3 separate regions of the Homo sapiens genome follow, and all the other regions are linked to region 1. The links are contacts of gene promoters, found by promoter capture Hi-C in blood cells and fetal thymus (Javierre and others, 2016). All regions are on one chromosome and are shown on one strand. The core of a region is centred on a gene start or on the middle of the fragment in contact, and the rest is flanking DNA. Distances in the headings are between cores, read along the strand shown. Region 1 holds the start of CTSE (cathepsin E). Region 2 overlaps SLC26A9 (solute carrier family 26 member 9). Region 3 holds the start of SLC26A9 (solute carrier family 26 member 9).

What was found. Contacts are between HindIII fragments. The CHiCAGO score rates a contact against its expected background, and 5 or more counts as called.
Region 2: a contact is called between a fragment that was not itself captured here and the fragment with the promoter of CTSE in region 1, in 5 of 17 cell types (M0 macrophages, M2 macrophages, megakaryocytes and 2 more). The highest score is 7.3, in M0 macrophages.
Region 3: a fragment that was not itself captured here is called in contact with the fragment with the promoter of CTSE in region 1 in 3 of 17 cell types (activated CD4 T cells, naive CD8 T cells and neutrophils); the score reaches 7.0 in activated CD4 T cells.

The regions. Positions count from the first base shown.
Region 1 is chr1:206,021,724-206,025,988 of GRCh38, reverse strand. It overlaps CTSE (cathepsin E), which reads left to right and starts at 2,094. Exons shown (of 9, transcript NM_001910.4): 1 at 2,094-2,265; 2 at 2,932-3,088; 3 at 3,722-3,839. The coding sequence starts at 2,198. The HindIII fragment of the contact is 10,319 bases long and covers 1-4,265 here.
Region 2 is chr1:205,912,761-205,917,025 of GRCh38, reverse strand. It overlaps SLC26A9 (solute carrier family 26 member 9), which reads left to right. Exons shown (of 21, transcript NM_052934.4): 21 at 1,622-3,974. The coding sequence ends at 1,669. Among named protein-coding and RNA genes, the nearest start is that of SLC26A9-AS1, 20 kb to the left of the region's middle. The HindIII fragment of the contact is 1,001 bases long and covers 2,071-3,071 here.
Region 3 is chr1:205,940,115-205,944,379 of GRCh38, reverse strand. It overlaps SLC26A9 (solute carrier family 26 member 9), which reads left to right and starts at 924. Exons shown (of 21, transcript NM_052934.4): 1 at 924-1,015. All of the region lies in intron 2 of SLC26A9-AS1 (SLC26A9 and RAB7B antisense RNA 1), which reads right to left. The HindIII fragment of the contact is 492 bases long and covers 1,857-2,348 here.

The sequences.
Region 1 (4,265 bases), core at 845-3,344:
GGAATGACCAGTTAGTAGAGCAATGGAGCAATCAGAACACACAATTACACTTATTAAATTCTCTGTCTTACACGGGTGCAGTTTGTGGTACCCCAAAACAATTACAACAGTAACATCAAAGATCACTGAGTACAGATCACCAAAACAGATAAAATAATCATGAAAAACTTTGAAATATTGCAAGAATTACCAAAATGTGGCACAGAGACACAAAATGAACACACAGTATTGGAAAAATGGTGCTGATAGACTTGCTTGACACAGGTTTGCCACAAACCTTCAATTAAAAAAAAAAAGCAGTATCTGCAAAGTGCAGTAAAGCAGAGTGCAGTACAACAAGTATATCTGTACCTTATTTTGTTTGTTTAATCCTCCTTAAAAACCCATTGATGTAGGTAAGGTATTTGGCAGATGACAAAACTAAGGTATGTGGTGAATAAGCAGTTACGGGCAAAACATGGCAGAGTTTACTGCCAAAATGAATGATCTCCACTTCTAGCCACTTCTGACTCAAGCTGCCCTTCTAGGTTTAGACCACTCTCCCCAGTGAAAGATCAACAAGACGGGCTCCTGGGAAATGCCAAAGAGGCTTTGTTGCCTTGGGTTCAGGGGTCAAAGGTCTAGGCTGTTCCTTAAGTCTTTTTGATGTCTTTTTTTAACATTTTTGGACCCAAGGGTGGGTTTGGCTTAGCTCCATACTCCACGTTTGCTTGCCATTTGAACTTCAGAGATGAAAGGCAGATCCCATAGCACTTAAGAGATTTTCCAGAACACTAGCTGGTCAGGGCAGAGCTAAACCTAAACGCAGGCCATCTACTTCCTACTGCTGAGCTAGTGCCCTCTGGAAGCATTGGCATATGGTGGTGGCCTCTGCTGCCCTGGCTAACTTGAGTCAGGGTCAGGGTCTTCCTACCTGTAACCCCTTCATCCCCACCCCAGGCACTGAAGCCCCACCATCTGTTTATGAGGCGGGTGGCCACAGAGATAGGCTGATGGTGAGGGGGTTTCACACACTGCGGTAACTAAGGCCTGAGCCCCACCCACTCTCCACCCCTGCGCTTAGTCCCACTTGACAGATAGAAGATCCTATTGTCCCTGAGCACTGTTAAGGGCTGAACTTTGTCCTCCAAAATCCATGTTGATGTCCTAACACCTAGTACCTCAGAACGTGACTGTATTTGGAGATAGGGTCTTTAAAGAGGTATTAAGGGTAAACGCAGTCATTAGGGTGGGCCCTACTCCAATATGACTAGCGTCCTTATAAGAAGAGGAAATGTGGATGTGGACACAGCCACACGCTGAGGGAAGACCCATGTGAAGACACAGAGAGAAGGCAGCCATCTGCAAGCCAAGGAGAGAGGCCTCCGAAGCAACCAAGTCTGCCAACACCTTGATCTTGGACTTCCAGCCTCCAGAATAGTGAGAAAATAAATTTCTGTTGTTTAAGCCCCCTGTACTTTGTCATGGCCGCTTTAGTAGACTCATGCGGGCACTTGCTGTAGACGCTGACCCCCTTGACCCTCCCTCGCTGCCCCTGCATTCTCCTCCACACACCCCTGAGCCCCAGCCCCAGATTCATCAAGTCCTTAGAGTCAGGAGAGTGGGCTCCATAAATCTGCAGCTACATTTTCCCATTTCAGGGCCTTTGAGGAGTGCTGGTTTGTGCTTCAAAGTGGGCCAGGGAAGGATAAACTGCCTTTGGAGCATTTGAGAGATTGAGGAGAGAACAGGAATCACCCAGAAAACAGACTGACGAATATTTTGAGTTAGAATCCTGCCACCCATGACAAGTCAGCTCCCACCCCTCCAGAGTCTCCAGCTAGAGCACTTGCAGTAAGAGTTCAGTGGGCCTTTCCAGGCAGCCAGGCATGTGCTGCCCTCCGGATTCATTAACAGGGTTTCTTGGGGTCAGAGGAGGTGCCAAAGCCCTGAGAGAAGCCAAGCCCCAGAGGACTCCCAAGTTCTCCCCGCAGACTCATATTCCTCTTGTAGGTGGGAAAGGGACGGAGAGGTGCAGGGGGAACGCCCTGTTCCACATGCCGTATTTACTCTGGGCATGGCTAATGACTCCAGGGCCTTATCATTCGGCCCTCAGACTGGGCTGGGCAGGTCTGAGAGTTAGGGAAAGTCCGTTCCCACTGCCCTCGGGGAGAGAAGAAAGGAGGGGGCAAGGGAGAAGCTGCTGGTCGGACTCACAATGAAAACGCTCCTTCTTTTGCTGCTGGTGCTCCTGGAGCTGGGAGAGGCCCAAGGATCCCTTCACAGGTGAGAAGACGTCCCCGCACTGTGTTCAGCTGGGTAGTCCCATGCCCTGCAACTCAGGGCTGCTCTGGGGTAGGAAAGCTGATGGGGAGGTGAAGAGGAGGAGAAGCTGAGGGCTTGCGTCAATGCATGGAAGAGACTCATCCAGTGACCGCCTGTGTATGGCCTTAATCTCCAGTCCTCAACAAGTCATCCTCCTGCCTCCACCTCCACGGAGGTGCCTTCCCAAGTCCCAGGGGTCTTCTTGTGTTGCAAAAGAGCAGGAACCTGCAGTTGTGGTTTGTAGCTCAAAGCGCCCCAGGACTTCCCCAGGGGACTGACCATCACTGTCCCCAAGAGTTTTTCTGTCCCTTTAAATCAGCCCTTCGTGATGTTCATGTAAAACTGTAGACCGCCCCACATCTCCCATTTTCCTAGATCTCAAAGACCTCAGCTCCAGGAGGGGAGCCATTTCCACTCTAAGATTCTAAGACTCTATAGGGCAGAGATGAGGCCGGGCAGGCTGAGTGGCAGAGAGGACGCTGATCCCACCTGTATCCTGCGTGCTGTCTTGCAGATCCCCCCCTCCCACCCCATCTTCTCTAGTTGGCCCCTGAGAAAATGGGACGAGAATGGGGGGAAGAGGGAGGCAGAAGTACATCTCCTGCTTACATGGGGGTTTGTCTCCAGGGTGCCCCTCAGGAGGCATCCGTCCCTCAAGAAGAAGCTGCGGGCACGGAGCCAGCTCTCTGAGTTCTGGAAATCCCATAATTTGGACATGATCCAGTTCACCGAGTCCTGCTCAATGGACCAGAGTGCCAAGGAACCCCTCATCAACTACTTGGATGTGAGGCCTCCTGGGGTCAGGGCTGGGGAGAGGTGGGAGCGGGAGGAAGGCCCAGCATTAGGGCATGGCCAGTGCCACATCAGTAGCACCGAAGGCCATTGTGGATTTCTTCACTTGGATGATGATCCATGGGGACTGATTCCCTGGGTCCCCATGGAGTTGGCTAAGCAGGCCCCCATGTACCCAAATGTCAGAGTTCTCTGCAGAAGGAAAGGGCTGGGAGTGAAAGCATCATCCCACACTGAAGGCCCCTGCTTCTGCTCTCAGCTGGGCAGCTTACTGGCTGTGTACCCTTAGGCAAGTTACTTAACCTCTCCCAGCCCCAGTTCCCTGGTCTGTAAAACAGATGGTTCTTCCTCCACTGCCTCTCCTACAATGTATTTATAAGAATCAGGTTAGTGCAAGTAAAATCAAATGAAGTAGCCAGAGGCTTGGTTTGATTTCCTCCTTCATGGCCATTTCTCTGCTCCTTTTACCTTTTATTTTCCAGCGTTGCCACTTCCTAGGCTCTGTAAACTCCAGTCTGTATTACCCCAGGCTCTGGCCCCTGGGAGCTTTCCCCTGGCTTCCTGGTGAGCACCCTTGTCCCTCCCCACCACCCACACCCTCTTTCCTTCTCACTCTTCCTTGCAGATGGAATACTTCGGCACTATCTCCATTGGCTCCCCACCACAGAACTTCACTGTCATCTTCGACACTGGCTCCTCCAACCTCTGGGTCCCCTCTGTGTACTGCACTAGCCCAGCCTGCAGTAAGTGGGGCCAGGAGCACCAGCAGAGAATGTCTGGGGGCTAGTCCTGGGAGGCCAAGCCTGGTACTCTGGGGAAGGGGGGCTTAGGTTCCAGAAACTGGCCATCCCTGCCACACCAGCTTCCACTCTCCATCTTTGAGTCAGCCGTGGAACTGCTTATAGCAGAGATAGAGCAAAGCCAAGGAAGAACTAAAATGTGGCTGCTGTCCAAGAGAGTAACTTTCATACTGATCAGAATTAATAGAAAGAAAGCCATTGAAAAGAGAAATCTTTGACATAATGACTCACTTCCTTTGGAACACCCAAAGGAATGTAGGGGAAGTTTAATTTAATTGGTTATTTCTGAGCAGGGAGGTGAGTCGGGTTCTAGTGTAGATAGTCTGCTTGTTTCAAGGAGGCTTGGTAGCCTTATCTCCTGGTGCACAC
Region 2 (4,265 bases), core at 1,322-3,821, 110 kb after region 1:
TGCCTCCCGGGTTCCAGAGGTTCTCCTGCCTCAGCCTCCCGAGTAGCTGGGACTTCAGGCCTGCGCCCAGCTAATTTTTGTATTTTTAGTAGAGACAGCTTTTCACCATGTTGGCTGGGCTGGTCTCGAACTTCCGATCTCAAGCAATCTGCCTGCCTCGGTCTCCTAAGTGCCTGGATTACAGGCATAAGCCACGATGCCTGGCCTTTGTTTTCATTCTTCTCACTCCCTGAAAGTTATCGTGGGGAGAGGGTGAGTCACTGGACCAAGTCCTAGAGAACCAGTATCTATTCTTATTCTCCAACACATCACCCACGTGACCCTGAGCAAGCCACATACACCCTGGGCCCTAGTTTTTATCATCTGTGAAATTAGGGGAAACATAGGTAATACCTGTCCCATCCACCACACAAGATTGGCAGGGCAGTCACTTGTTCTTTCATTAATTCAGCAGGTATTTATGGCGTACCTACTGTTTGCCTGACACAGTTCAGGATGGGCACATAGCAGTGAGCAAAACAAAGGCCTCTGCCTTTTAGAAACTTACGTTATGGTAGAATAGATGGATTCTGGGTCTACAAATGAATTATTATTGCATGTGGACAAGCCTTAAGAACTAAAAAATATGTGGCTGGGTGCAATGGTTCACACCTGTAATCCCAGCACTTTGGGAGGCTGAGGTGGGCGGACCACCTGAGGTCAGGAGTTTGAGACCAGCCTGGCCAACATGGCGAAACCCCGTCTCTACTAAAAGCACAAAAATTAGCCAGGCGTAGTGGTGCATGCCTGTAGTCCCAGCTACTCGGAAGTCTGAGGCATGAGAATCACTTGAACCTGGGAGGCAGATGTTGCAGTGAGCCGAGATCGTGCCACTGCACTCCAGCTTGGGTGACAGAGCTAGACTGTCTCAAAAACAAACAAAACAAAACCTAAAAGATATGTGGATATGAGGGATCACCATCCCCATAGGGCCCCTGGATTAACACCACCCCACCAATGCCCTGAATTAAAAGAAACCAGATGACTAGGTTTGGAGAAATCTGGCTTTGGGTCTATGAGAAGTAGTGTCTCTCTTTGTGCCTCTTCCCATTCTTTTTGACATTGAGCTCCATGGTGCTCTGAATCCGTCTCTCACAGTGCTGATGGCAGGTGGGACAGATTAGAAAATAGAGCTGGAGCCACAGAGATTTGGCAGACTGATTTCGGTGCCCTCTTGGAATCTCCAGCACATTCCAAAAAGCCTGGATAGGACCAAAATAGCTTATCAACGTGAGAAAGGACTTCAGAGCTTGTCTACTGCCAACCCTCATTTTACCCAATGAGGAAAGTGAAGCTATTAGGGGGCGAGGGACACGTGGAAGGTCACACAGCACACAGGAGGTGATTCACATGTAGATTTCAGCACCTGCTCCTGCCACGCTGGACTGGTTCACCTCCTAGGCTGACCCTGCCTCTCCCCTGTTCACACACACTCTCGCACACACACACACACACACACACACACACAGGTGCTTTGTTCTGGCCAGGGGTTCCTAGGGTCACCTCTTGGTTGCAGCCACTGTGACCCCAACTGGTCTAACCTCTCTCTTCCCCTCCCACTTCCTTCCTGTGGTTCCTGCAGGAGATGTTCGGGAGCATGTTTCACGCAGAGACCCTGACCGCCCTGTGAGGGCTCAGCCAGTCCTCATGCTGCCTACAGAGTGCCTGGCACTTGGGACTTCCATAAAGGATGAGCCTGGGGTCACAGGGGGTGTCGGGCGGAGGAAAGTGCATCCCCCAGAGCTTGGGTTCCTCTCTCCTCTCCCCCTCTCTCCTCCCTTCCTTCCCTCCCCGCATCTCCAGAGAGAGCCTCTCAGCAGCAGGGGGGTGCTACCCTTACAGGAGTGAGAGTCTGGTGAGCCCACTCTTCACCCGTCAGGCCCTGGCCGCAATGGACAAGCCTCCTGCTCACTCCACCCCACCCACCTCTGCCCTGTCCTTGGCAGCTGAAGGACACCTTGACTTCCAGCTTTTACGAGTGAGCCAAAAACAGAAGGACAAGTACAACTGTGCTGGCCTGCTGTACAAGCTTCAAAAAGTGTCCCAGAGCCCACACGGCTCGGTGTCAGATGGTGTCAGGCTGTCACGGACATAGGGATAAACTTGGTTAGGACTCTGGCTTGCCTTCCCCAGCTGCCTCAACTCTGTCTCTGGCAGCTCTGCACCCAGGGACCATGTGCTCTCCACACCCAGGAGTCTAGGCCTTGGTAACTATGCGCCCCCCCTCCATCATCCCCAAGGCTGCCCAAACCACCACTGCTGTCAGCAAGCACATCAGACTCTAGCCTGGACAGTGGCCAGGACCGTCGAGACCACCAGAGCTACCTCCCCGGGGACAGCCCACTAAGGTTCTGCCTCAGCCTCCTGAAACATCACTGCCCTCAGAGGCTGCTCCCTTCCCCTGGAGGCTGGCTAGAAACCCCAAAGAGGGGGATGGGTAGCTGGCAGAATCATCTGGCATCCTAGTAATAGATACCAGTTATTCTGCACAAAACTTTTGGGAATTCCTCTTTGCACCCAGAGACTCAGAGGGGAAGAGGGTGCTAGTACCAACACAGGGAAAACGGATGGGACCTGGGCCCAGACAGTCCCCCTTGACCCCAGGGCCCATCAGGGAAATGCCTCCCTTTGGTAAATCTGCCTTATCCTTCTTTACCTGGCAAAGAGCCAATCATGTTAACTCTTCCTTATCAGCCTGTGGCCCAGAGACACAATGGGGTCCTTCTGTAGGCAAAGGTGGAAGTCCTCCAGGGATCCGCTACATCCCCTAACTGCATGCAGATGTGGAAAGGGGCTGATCCAGATTGGGTCTTCCTGCACAGGAAGACTCTTTAACACCCTTAGGACCTCAGGCCATCTTCTCCTATGAAGATGAAAATAGGGGTTAAGTTTTCCATATGTACAAGGAGGTATTGAGAGGAACCCTACTGTTGACTTGAAAATAAATAGGTTCCATGTGTAAGTGTTTTGTAAAATTTCAGTGGAAATGCACAGAAAATCTTCTGGCCTCTCATCACTGCTTTTCTCAAGCTTCTTCAGCTTAACAACCCCTTCCCTAACAGGTTGGGCTGGCCCAGCCTAGGAAAACATCCCCATTTCTAACTTCAGCCAGACCTGCGTTGTGTGTCTGTGTGTTGAGTGAGCTGGTCAGCTAACAAGTCTTCTTAGAGTTAAAGGAGGGGGTGCTGGCCAAGAGCCAACACATTCTTGGCCCAGGAGCATTGCTTTTCTGTGAATTCATTATGCCATCTGGCTGCCAATGGAACTCAAAACTTGGAAGGCGAAGGACAATGTTATCTGGGATTCACCGTGCCCAGCACCCGAAGTGCCAAATTCCAGGAGGACAAGAGCCTTAGCCAATGACAACTCACTCTCCCCTACTCCACCTCCTTCCAAGTCCAGCTCAGGCCCAGGAGGTGGGAGAAGGTCACAGAGCCTCAGGAATTTCCAAGTCAGAGTCCCCTTTGAACCAAGTATCTAGATCCCCTGAGGACTTGATGAAGTGATCCTTAACCCCCAAGTAATCATTAACCCCCAGACCAGCCTCAGAACTGAAGGAGATTGTTGACCCAGTGACCTGGAGTTGAGGCTCAGGGAGAGATCTGCCACATGTCTGAGGGTTGCAGAGCCCGCTGTGGAGGTAAGATTGGAAACACATGAGGCAGAGGGAAGACATTGAAGAAAACATCTCTGCTGGAATATTTGGAAAAGAACACTCTTCTGGACCTGGTTGAAGCAGGAAAGATGGAGGCAAAGTAGTGAAATAATCCAGAATTTCAATGCTTTTGAATGTTCTTAGTGATACTGACCTGTGATAATATAATTCCCAGGGAGGACTGGGAACCTTATCTCTTGAGATATTTGCATAATTTATTTAATTTAAGCCTCATTCTCCTTTTGTTCATTTTGGTAATAAACTGGATTTGAATTGTGAACAAATGCACATGTTTGGGTGGTTTTATAGAAAAGCAAAACAAGTCACCTCCACAGAGACCTGGCCTTGCTTTGCATTATCCCGGGCGGGGGAAGCAACGAGGACTCAGATTTCTCTGTAGGTCTCCCAGCTCCTCTCCAGGTTCGATTTTCCATCCTGGGAATGCATAAACTTCCACAATCCAGCTAAAGAACAGAAACTGGGGAGAGAAGATTGGGCTGAGGGGTCCACACACCCAGGACGAGTATCTAGAGCCAACTCTGGATTTTTGTGGCTATAGGGGATGTCAAAG
Region 3 (4,265 bases), core at 853-3,352, 82 kb after region 1:
TCCCAGCCCCTGTCCACAATTGCTTTCTGAGGTCCTTCCGTAGCACTCAATGGGCCTGGGATGGGCAGCTCTGCTGGCAGCAGCCGGAGCAGTGCCATGACCCAGGGAGACATTAATTCCTAGAAGCGGCAGAGGGCTGTGACTGGAGATTTGCTAGCCTTCAGGTCGCCTCTCATATAATTGTTCTAAGTCCAGTTTCTTGAGCTCTTTTATCAGATTCTAAACCCCTGTGTTCTCTTTGCACACTACCTGAGGGGCCAGGAATAATTTCCCCCATTGCACTGATGGATAGACCAAGGCACAGAGCTCACAAGCAACTTAACATTGGGGACAGAACTGGGAACCAGGTCTCCACCACAAACCAAAACCGCCTAAAGGCTCCCAGGGCCTCCCAGACATGGTTCTTCCCCTTCCTCAGGGGTGTTCAGAGGACTACTGTCTTCCCACCCCCTAGATCTCCAATCTTCAAAGCAAGCATCCCCAAGAGCACACCCCTCAGGTGGCCTCAATAGCTCCCATTGTCCAAGAGGCTCTTTGGCCTGACCCCCAGCCCCATAAGCAGCAGGACAGCAAGCTCAGAGGAGCTTGTCCTGCCTTGTCCCCCTCCTCTGCCTCGTCCCCCTCCTCCAGGGCCGCCTTGGGGGAGCCGGTGGGGCAGGAGCCCCGCTGAATGTGACCTATTGTCTTCGGGGTGGATTTAGGAAGTGCCAAGCTCCCATCACACAGCCCTGCTCCCCAGGTAAAACAAAAAAAGGGCTGTTCATTTGGGACCTTTTCCCCCTTATCTCCTTTTCCTATCTCCTCAGGCTTAGCTATGGTGTAGTGTTCAAAACCACTTCCCCTCTGAGCCAATCAGAAGCCGGGGCTCACCCCGTGGCCCTGAGGAAAAGTTATTTATAAACGCCTCCCTGGATTATTTGAGCAGAGCCCTTTCACACACCTCAGGAACACCTTTCGGCTGCCCGCTCCCCAGACACACCTGCAGCCCTGCCCAGCCGGCTTTGCTCACCCACTGGTAAGCCCCACCCAGCCCAGCCCACCCCACTGGGCTGGGGTCATCCCTGCAAGAGGGCAGTCACCAGGGGTACCGAGAGGAGGGATGACAGGAACCAACTGCCAAGCTGAGCACAAGTAGGAAGGACACTCTGGCCCCTGGAGTCTGAGAGCAGCCTCCCAGCCCTTCCCCTCTGAGGAGCCCTTTGGGTCTTCACGTCTATGTAAGGACCTGGGCTGCAAGGCTGGGCTTGACTGAGGGAGCAAGTAGGGTGAGGGTGTGGTGGTCGCCAGACCCCGAAACAGAGCGAGGCAAAGGCCTCCGAGGGAAAGGAAAATGTTAGACCTTCCTCCGCGACAGCCTTTGAAGCTGTGGGCTGCTCCTCTCCCTTTCTTTTCAAGTCTTGGAGGGAAAAGCTCTTAATGCTTGACTCACCAGCCTACTCTGCATGGCTGTCTCCCCCTCCTTCTACCGCCCAGACATCCTCCTTCACTCATGTACTTCTCCACCAGCTCGGGGAACTTAGCATGGACTACACAGAATCCCATGTGTCCCCATTAGTCCTGAGAAGTTGGAAGAGGTGGAGGGGGAGGAAACTGAGGAGTGGGAGAGGGTGAGCAAGGGACCAGCTCCATCAGGCAGGCGGGTGGGCGGTAGCTGGACCTGGGACGCCCGACTCAATGGTGAATGCTTCAACACAGAAGGGCTTGGGCCAGGACAGTGGATGGGCAGCCAGCTCTCCAGGCTCTCAGCCTCCAAACCCCTCATCCTGCAGCTCCAAGGGGTTCCAAGCCACTCTCAGGCAGTGCCCCCATTCCTCAAAACCAGCCCAGAGGGTCCCCAGCTGAGACCTAACAAAGCTTCTATTATTCCAGCATCAACTGCCCCCTTACACTTGGCCCCACGGGTCTGAGGACCAGAAGACCCTGGAGTGACGCAGCCCCCCAAGTGGGCAGACTGAGAGAGGGCTTTCCCCCTGAGTGGCTTCACTCATGCAGATGACCCTTTCTCAGAACCCCACAGTCCTCCCCCACCTCCCTCATCCTGGCCCTGGCATCCAGAACCTGGCAAGACCCTGCTTGGGCAGCATGGAGACCAGCATGGCCAAGAGCACCTCCACTGCCAGGAAGGCCTTCCCAGGCACTTCCCAGAGCTAGCCACCTGCTCTCTGAGTCTCATTTGTATAAACCCTGGGGCAGAGACGGACTCCTCTTTATCTTTTAATGCCCAGAGTCTTCCGGAGATTGGCATATACCCAGTATTCAAGAGTGCCTCTTAAACCGTACTAAACAGCCAGACTGACCCCCGTGAACTTGCTGGGGGAATCGAGGACCAGCTCAACACTGACCAAGCTTTGGGGGCTGTGGGGTCACTACTTGGAAGATGGAAGGGGCAGAGCCACCCCTTCAAGGGGAGTTGATCTTCACTGGATGCCTCTCTGGGCTTTCGCCTGGATTTCTGGGACCAGAGCAGCTGGGCCCTTCACTGGTCTCCTTGCCCAGGCCCTGCTTCCAAGTGAAAGCAACCCCAGTCTCCTTAAAGACTTCTAGGAATTTAACCTCAAGTGCCCATTCCAGGGAGCCCATGACCTTGTCAGTCTTGCTGTTAGGAAGTGATTCTCAAAGTCTAGCCTTGGTCCCTCTTTCTGGAGCCTATTTCCTCAGCCCAGCACCCATTCCCAGCAGGGAAAGTGCAGAGGAGGGAGAGTTCGCCTGGAGATAAGGAGTGGGGATTTGGGGGGTGGTATCAGTGAATCTCTCTCCTACACGGGATGCAGTCTCTAAGACACCTTAGGGACATCTCATCCTCCCCTACACTGAGGAGGAAATTAGGCTGGGGTGAGGAGTAGGGAGAGATTTGCCCTGGAAACACAGGGACAGTAGAAGGAAAAGGAGTGTTTAAAAATGCCTTGGGGGGCTGGGCGCAGTGGCTCAGCCTGTAATCTCAGCACTTTGGGAGGCCAAGGAGGGCAGATCACTTGAGGTCAGGAGTTCGAGACCAGGCTGGCCAACATGGCGAAACCCCGTCTCTACTAAAAATATAAAAAATATTAGCTGGGTGTCATGGCGCGCACCAGTAATCCCAGCTCCTAGGGAGGCTGAGGCAGGAGAATTGCTTGAACCCAGGAAGTGCACCCTGTGGTGAGCCAAGATCGTGCCACTGCACTCCAGCCTGGGTGACAGAGGGAGACTCCACCTCAAAAAACAAAAACAAAAAAACAAAACAAACAAACAAAAAAGCCTTAGGGGTGCAGAGGCCTCTACATCCTTCCTCCTCCTGCCATGGATGTGGTCTCCCACTGAGACCCCAGCCAGCTTGTCTGTCCCAGCTCACATTCACACCTGGGTCACTCAGAGGCTGCTCTTACCCTGTGGCCCCCACCCTGGATGAGGCAGGGAGGCAACCAGCAGCTAGAGCAAAGGGGAAACCTCAAGGTGACCTTTCCTCTTCCCAGAACACAGCAACCGGCTGGCTAGGAACCAGTGATAAGGATGCCAGGGTGGGTTGGCCCAGCCGGGGCTGTTCCCGTACCTGGCACACATGCGTCAAAAACCCCCTCCCTCACATGCACACCCCCGACAGGACTGAGGGAGGAAGTCAGCCTGGCCCACAGTGACAGGATCACCTCCAGATCCAACCAAAACCCACAAATGGACCCCTCACAGTCCTGCTCTGCAGATGTTCTACCCTCTTCTGACAAGATTTTCTGCTGTTCCTCTCATCAAGTCCTGGGAAAATTTGGAGGGGTTAAGGCATGGGGCAGCAGGTATAGGGGCAGATGGAAAAAGGCAAGCCAAAAAAAGGCAGAGTGCCCACTAGAGATGGCAGAGCAAGAAAGAGGCTCCTCTGGAGTCATAGCAGTAATGATGATAGTTGGAGTTTATTGCATGCTTCCCATGGCCAGGTGCCGTTCCGAGCCTTTCAGTGCATCCACTCGGGCACTGTCTCTGCCTGAGCCCATCTCTGCCCAAGCCCATCTCTGCCTACAATATTTGGATGGTGTTGACAGAGACCTGGTTAGAAATGTGACTGGGAGAAGGTACCAGGGGCGTGCTTTGGCATGAGCTCATTGGAGGAGAAATCCTGGAGAATCTCAAGAGGGAATCTGCTCCAGCCTGTGCCCTCCCTGCAGGGTCTATTTTCTCTTTGCTTCCCCTCTCCCAGCTACTCCGGCTCGCACGACCCCTGCATCCCCTCTGCTCCAGATTTGACCCACTCTCCTGCCAGTGCATGGGAGTGGCCCATGCACCCACATCTCCTGCCCTCTGCT